Linked DNA regions of Homo sapiens: region 1 is linked to region 2. The links are contacts of gene promoters, found by promoter capture Hi-C in human tissues and cell types (Jung and others, 2019). All regions are on one chromosome and are shown on one strand. Each heading gives the region's core, a stretch centred on a gene start or on the middle of the fragment in contact. The rest is flanking DNA. Distances are from core to core; before and after follow the strand shown. Region 1 overlaps SPATA6L (spermatogenesis associated 6 like). Region 2 holds the start of SLC1A1 (solute carrier family 1 member 1).

Region 1 (3,942 bases), core at 1,053-3,552, 150 kb before region 2:
GTTCAAGTGATTCTCCTGCCTCAGCCTCCTGAATAGCTGGAATTATGGGCACCTGCCAATGCGTCCAGCTAATTTTTGTGTATTTTTTGTAGAGTCAGGGTTTCACCAAGTTGGCCAGGCTGGTGTCGAACTCCTGACCTCAGGTGATCTGCCTGCTTCGGCCTCCCAGAGTGCTGGGGTTACAGACGTGAGCCACTGCCCCCGGCCTACATCATTATTTTGATAGCTATAAAGAATTTTATTAATTTACATATGTGTTTTTTATAGGTCTATAAATAGTATTTCCATAGTATTTTGGGTTTTACTTTTCTTACTTTACATTATTACCTGTAGTTTACTTGTCATTTTCAATAGCTGTGTATTTTTCCATAGTGGTGGTGTTATCCATAAATTAATATTGTTGAGCATTTAGATTTTCTTTTTTTCCACATTTTTATAAAAATATTTCTCTCTTGGTATATTTACAAATAATAGAATTACTAGATTGAACCATGCCTTTTAAACTGGGGTAAACTGATCCCCAATAAGGTTCCAATACTTCTACTGCATCCAGGAGTGCATGGCATGCCCCTTCCCCATATCCTAGTTAATGCTGGATACTGTCAATTGGATTTGTTGTGTTTGCAAAGTATGTCATGGCTCACGCTTATAATCCCAGCACTTGGGGAGGCCAAGGTGGGCGGATCATGAGGTCAGGAGTTTGAGACCAACCTGGCCAACATAGTGAAACCCTGTTTCTACTAAAAATACAAAAATTAGCTGGGAATGATGTCAGGTGCCTGTAATCCGAGCTACTTGGGAGGCTGAGACAGGAGAACTGCTTGAACCCGGGAGGCAGAGGTTGCAATGAGCTAAGATTGCACCACTGCACTCCAGCCTGGGCCACAGAGCCAGACTCCATCTAAATAAATAAATAGATAAAAATATATTTTATCCTATTTTATGATCTATCTCCCTTTTAGATGTGACTGTGACAACCTTAAATTTAAAACTTCTTAAAAATTTTCATTTTCCCATATTATGATTTGTTTTCTTTCTTTCCTTCTGTATAAAGTGACTGTCACTGTCCTTTGATTACTTATGGAGTGATGTCTGGATATAAATGTTGATTTTGTTATAAATTCTTATTTTTAACAATGTTTTCAATCAGTTATGCTTAAAACAGTTATATTTTCCCTGTTTTGTTGTGTTATTTTGATGTTTTATGGTGTGTGCTTTTCTTTTTCTTAAGAGAGCATGGGAGAAGGAAGATGAGACTAGCAAATGTCTCAACTAAAGCAAAGAGGACTGAGGAGGCTTTTGATAGGGATCATAGTCCTGCCTGCTGTGGATATCACTGGAGCAGGTCAAGGGCCCAAGTGAAGTGCAGTGAACCCAGGAGTCTGTAGTTCTTTCTTCTGCTTCTTGGTTCTTTGGCAAAGGCTGCCGCTGGAGACAGAAAAGAACCCCACTCTGTGAATTTAAGAATAGGTGCTTTTGGAGATGTCATTACCTTCATAGGTAGACGGAACTGAGCAGGTGCCTCCTGACTACTTTTCAGAAATTCTCACTGAATGTTTTTCAGCCTAAAAGTGACAGGCTGAAATCAGGGCATTGAGTTTTTTTCCATAAGTTTTTTATTCTTATTTGACCCAATTTTATGTTCAAACATATATCACTGCTGGCACATTATATTTTAGTATGCTGAGGAAGTAGAAGCATGCCCACTTTGGTCTTATTTAATTTTACATGGATTTTAAAAAAGTTACTCAATACCTAAGTAATCTCACTATAAAAAATTTAACACGAAAGTATGTAAAAGAAAATGTCAAAAGCCCATTCAACAATCCCTGACAGATAATTACCATTAACAATTTGATGTGGGCCAGGTATGGTGGCTTGCGCCTGTAATCCCAGCACTTTGAGAGGCAAAGGTGGGTGGATTGCTTGAGCACAGGAGTTCAGGTACAGCCCGGGAAACATGGTGAAACCTCATCTCTACTGAAAATAAAAAAATTAGCTATGTGTGCTGGTGCATGCCTGTAGTCCCAGCTACTTGGGAGGCTGGGGAGGTCACCTGAGCCAAAGAGGTTGAGGCTGCAGTGAGCTGTGATCTTGCCACTGCACTCCAGCTTGGGCAACAGAGTGAGACCCTGTCTCAACAAAACAAAACAGAACAAAACAATTTGATGTGTGTCTTTTTAAACCTTCTAAAATGCATTTAGTACATTCAGCCAACCGTAAAATAACCACACATGCACGCGCATACCCTATATATAGTTGGACCTTCTGATTGTCAAGTTCCACATCCATGAATTTGGCTAACCATTACTCGAAAATGTAGTTAGGCCTATGATGGTTGTGTCTGTACTGAACATGTACAGACTTTTTCTTGTCATTAGTCCCTTAACAATACAGCATAACAACTATTAGATAACATTTACATTATGTTAGGTATTATAAGTAATCTAGAGATGATCTGAAGTATACAGGAGGATGTGCATAGGTTATATGCAAATATTACACCATTTTATTTCTTATTTTTAATGTTTTATTATTATGCTCTTTTTACCTTCGACCAACTCACCGCAACTACACCATTTTATATCAGGGACTTGAGCATTCATGGATATTTTCATATCTGCAAGGGTTCCTGAAACCAACCTCCTGTGGATACTTAGGGATGACTATATATTAAATACAGTATATATAAACACGAATATATTTAGTATTTAGTATATATAGTTACGTGTGTATATATTTTATGGTTGTTGAATATACTAAATGTTGGTTTTCTGGTCTCTTGAAAGACATATGACAGTCCAAGATATACTGCATTTTAAAAAGTCAGTTGCAGAATATGTATTTTCAACATATATACACACACACCTATATATATGTTGACTATATATATTCTGCAACTTGCTTGTTAAAACTTAATATGTCTTGGAGTGCTATATGTTTTTCATGTGACAAGAAGCCCATCTGTGAAAAGGTTGCAAGAATAGTTGTTTGAAAAGAATGATTGCAGAATATTCTAGCTGAGTGCATAAATACTGGTTATAACTCAAAAATTAATAAGATGCACAATGGGAACTGTGTTATACTTGTTTTTTTAATTTACAATCTCTCAATTTCAGATTATAATTTTAGTGGAATTAAATTTGAATTGCTCAAAATAACAATTGATTTTACTTAGCTTCAGATGTAGTACAGTTTGATCCATTAATTTGTTCAAGGTATGTTTTTACAGGCATACTTTGCACATGATCTACACTGTGCCAGTCTTCCTAGTGTGATGCTGGTGGCTCCGGGCACGTAGTAGTGGCAGTGAGCCCTCATGATCTGCTGATCCTTGATACTAGCAAAAATTTTTTTTTTTTCTTAAAGTTTCCTGTGGACTGCACTGTGGGGTCACATGGGCCATATTTGGGTTCTCAGGGACCAATTTCTCTATTGGCTGAATTGTTACCTTTTCATTTAGCTGTATTTATTGCTTGATATTTTTTCTCATTGCTTTCAAACACACTTATACTCAAAAGACATGTTATGATCATTAAGTTAATGGTACAAGTAAATTAATAATACAAGTAATAATATCCAGATGTGCATATAGCTTTACTGCTAAAGAATGAAGAAGTCTAGTGATCTTTGCTGCCAAGAAATAAAGACCCTTCCTGTTCTTCAGTTTACAAAGGTGGGAAAAAAGGAATGGACACAGGGGGGCAGCGTGATCCTGTTCCACAGTGAGCTTGATGCTTTCTTTTTATTAACCTCTGAGATAAATACCTTCGCTTTGGGTAAGTCAGGTATATTCAGTCCAACTGTAAAAGCCTATTCTAGTGGGCACCCATTCACTTAACAGGGCTTAATTTTATACTTTTATAGCAGTGCTTTTATAGCAATATTTTATACTTTCATAGCAATGCTTTTATACTTTTATAGGCATTAGCAAGGAAAGAA
Region 2 (3,779 bases), core at 470-2,969:
ACTTTCCCTTAAAAATGTTCAAAACCGAAAAAAAAAAGTTCCAAAACCACTTGGCACTTCTTGGGGGAAATAGTCAAGATTTGCTTCTGTACTTCTCTCCTTTCCTCCTACAAATAGCCTCTGCTAGGGCCATTCCAGGATGTTATTTATTTACTAGAAACCTGACTTTCCTTTCCCCAAGGTTCTGGAGAATCCAATCTGACCCCAAGAATCCCATTAACTTCCAAAGGCCATTTCCATGCCCTATCCCCACCCTGAGGGGAGGGGGCGGTTCGGAGGAGAAGCAAGCAACACCATATATTCTGAGATTTAGGAGCAGCAGTTGGAGAGGAAGGTACCTGAGGTTGGGAGGAAACAAGCTGTCCCCACTTGCCTTTTCAGCAAACACAGCTGCAGTTTCCAAGGGGAAGGTGGAGCCTGCCGAGGAATCCACATTCCTCAGAGGGTGCAACAGCCCTCACCTGCTGAGGAGCTATCACTGGGAAGGCGACAGATATGGCGCTAATCCCAAGGAAGTGCATCCCCGGGCCGGAGCTAGAAACACACAACCTTGGTAAAAAATCAGAATCTAAATAGGAATAACTCATACCTCTGAGCAATGGCTCAGACATCCACCTGGTCCAGTGATCTGTGAGGGGTGGATCACTTAAATACACCCTTGTTTAAAAACAGGCAAGGATGGCTTAAACATTATCTTAAATACAAAAACAACGTGGAGAGCAAGGAAGGCAGGAGAAGAGACGGCTGAGTTCTCTTAGCTCTCTTCCCCGGTGACCTCCCGCGGGCCACAGTGGCACATCCCAGAATTCAGGCACGAATCTGGCAGCTTTTCAGAGCCCGGGTGCAGGCAGTCGGCGCTCGCCGCGTGGGAAGGCACCTTTCCACGCACTGCCCAGGATGAGCGGCGACAGCGTTCTCAGCCTCCCTCCCCTAAGGGTCCGGCCCATCCCGGAGGCCAGGGTGCCTCTTCCAATTCGACTGAGAACTGTAATCCACACTCAATCTCTGCCCGCGCAGCGAGGCTGGGGGTGTGGGGTGAGGAAGGTGGCGGTGATAGGGGGAGATACGGTGCGGGATTAACAAAGAAAAAAATCGAACCCTGTTTTCAAACGAGCAGAACCAAGAGCTACTTGCTTCCCTTTCTACCCCCAAGCCCCTTTGATCATTTTGGGTAGAGCAGGAACCAGCAGCTCAAGGAGCACTCAAATGGGAGTCCCAGAGGAGCTTTGTTCTTGGTGTGCAGTAATTAGAGCGCTTGGGGGAAAGCCCCCGCAGGGGGCCCGAGGCTAAGGCCGAGGGGGCATCGAGGGACCCTGCATGGAGTGCGCCAGCGCCAAGCCCACCCTCAGCCGCACGCGGCCTGGGCGCAGAGAGCGCGTGAGGGTGCGCGCATCGCCCACCCGCCGCGCCGCTCACCTAGCACCACCGCGGCCACGGTGGACAGCAACACCCAGTTATTCTTCAGGAAGCGCTTCCACTCGCATCCTTTCCTCGCCGGTTTCCCCATGGCTGTCGCCGCTATTGTGCGCTGGGCTCGGCCGTGCGCGCGTGGGCTGGGCGACCCGGGGACTGCTGGCTGCTCGGCGGCGCGGCGAGATGCGGGTGCACAGGGGAGAGGTGAGAGCCGGCCGCTGCAGTCGCCGCCGTCACCACCGCCGTTGCCGCCGCCACCCGGGATCGCGCACCGCGCCCGCCGCCCTGCCAGCCCGGTAGTTTTGCGTGGCAGGCGCGCCCGGCTCCTCCTGCTGCCGCCGCGCTCTGCGGCGCCTGGGCCAACCAGCGAGGAAGGAGGGAGGAGCGGCAGGCCCGGGAAGGAGGGTGGGTGCGTGCGTGGGACGCCCGGGGTCCCTAGGGAGCAGGCGTGGTAGGGCGCCCAGCGCTGCGGCAGGAGCTGGGGCGGCCTCTCCGGGAACCCTGAGTCCCGCCCCACAGCCTTCCACTGGAGTCTGTCTCGCTTTCCACGCCTCACTCATGCTAGGGCTTTGGGTTAAGGGTTTTCTTCTGTCCCTAACCCAGAGAGGCGGAGCCACTGCCCTCCTGGGCGCGGACTTCATCCTGCACGTCTCCCTCTCCGTTCTCCACACCAGCTATTTCCAGCGCCGGCACCTGCAGAACGGGTGCCCTTTCAAGTCGGGGGAAGCTGATCCTGCCTTGGGTCCCTCTTGCTCGGCTACTCAGGCTGGGATGTGCCAGCAGCCGCGAAAGCCTGAAGCTTCTGGGAGGAGAGAAAGGAGTCCTGGGGCAGAACATGGCTTTGGAAACTTTCACGCGGAGCCTCCAGTGCCCCCACAGGGATTATTCTCCTCTTCGAGTCGCTGGAGGTGATTTGTCTGTGGACACTGGGCTTGGGAGTGTTCCCTGCACAAGGAGATGGTGATTTCTCTTAGAACTTTACTTCTGCTCCTTGGGACTTGCTCTGTGACCACAGGCCCTGGAGCATGGAGGCTTGGGGCAGTGATTAGAACTGAGAACCGGACCCGGGAGCCGCTCTGGGGAGAAAGTGGGCGGTCCATCCCCTAAGGTCCAACGGATTGGAAAGGCAAACACAGGAGAAACTAGGTTAGTGGTGCCAAATATATTTGGTGTTGCTAAGTGAATTTCTGATGCTCTTCCATTTTTCTACCCAATTTTTTCACTCTCACGTATACAATCTCTTTCCCTCCCTTTACCAAATCAGTACCTCCGCAGCTGTAAGCGGTCTTCTTATCAGCGTTCCTAAAGTTAAGTGAGCCTGGAACCCTTTTTGCTATTGTAGAATCTACTCTGATTGTGGGTAGGGAGAATTTCCCCTACTAGATTTTCTGATGACTAAATCCCCACAATTAGAGCTTCATCCCTTTGGTGTAAATTGATACAAGCATCTTTTAAGCGATAATAGATTAAGATTTACAACCCTGTAGACTTTAGTATGAATGAGTTTATCAGCTCTTTATAGAAAGTAAACTTTGAGAGAAAGAAGGTTAGAGGGATTTTAAGGTCGTTGGGTGTCCGAGGAAGATCTGAAGAAATGTCAGAAGGGGACCCGGGTGCGGTGGCTCTTGCCTGTAATCTCAGGACTTTGGGAGTCCGAGGCGAGCGGATCACGAGGTCAGGAGATTGAGACCATCCTGGCTAACACAGTGAAACCCCGTCTCTGCTAAAAATACAAAAAAATTAGCCGGGCGTGGTGGCACGTGCCTGTAGTCGCAGCTACTTGGGAGGCTGAGGGAGGAGAATCGCTTGAACCTGGAAGGTGGAGATTGCAGTAAGCTGAGATCAAGCCACTGCGCTCCAGCCTAGGCGACAGAGCGAGACTGTCAAAAAAAAAGAAAAAAGAAAGAAAGAAGGAAGGAAATGTCAGAAGGGAAACTATCAAGAAAGGGAGAATAGTCCCGGGCGCGATGGCTCACACCTGTAATTCCAGCAATTTGGGAGGCCAAGGCAGGCGGATCACTTGAGGTCAAGAGTTCGAGACCAGCCTGGCCAACATGGGGAAATCCCGTCTACCAAAAATACAAAAATTAGCCGGGTTTAGGGCCATGCACCTGTAATCCCAGCTATTCGGGAGGCTGAGACAGGAGAATCACTTGAACCCAGGAGGTGGAGGTTGCGGTGAGCCGAGATCACGCTGCAGCACTCCTGCCTGGGCGACCGGAGGGAAACCCTGTCTCATAAAAAAAAAAGAGAGAGAGCGTGCGCGAGAGAACAGATTTGTCCCACAGTAAAAAAACAGCTGGAAAAAACGCAAATGTCCAACATAAATGGAATGGTAAATATATTATGGAACTGCCAAGCAACAG

The links. The method cuts DNA at HindIII sites, captures the fragments that hold promoters and counts their contacts. A contact is called where the count stands out against the background at its distance.
Region 1: a fragment that was not itself captured here is called in contact with the fragment with the promoter of SLC1A1 in region 2 in 1 of the 25 tissues and cell types used here (heart right ventricle).

Annotation. Positions count from the first base shown.
Region 1 is chr9:4,639,988-4,643,929 of GRCh38, reverse strand. All of the region lies in intron 3 of SPATA6L (spermatogenesis associated 6 like), which reads left to right. Among named protein-coding and RNA genes, the nearest start is that of PLPP6, 20 kb to the left of the region's middle. The HindIII fragment of the contact is 6,593 bases long and covers 1-3,942 here.
Region 2 is chr9:4,488,408-4,492,186 of GRCh38, reverse strand. SLC1A1 (solute carrier family 1 member 1) reads right to left here and starts at 1,719. Exons shown (of 12, transcript NM_004170.6): 1 at 1,417-1,719. The coding sequence starts at 1,507. It also overlaps a transcript of GLIS3 not described here. RefSeq lists a silencer at 1,492-1,921 and an enhancer at 2,072-2,121. The HindIII fragment of the contact is 11,033 bases long and covers 1-3,779 here.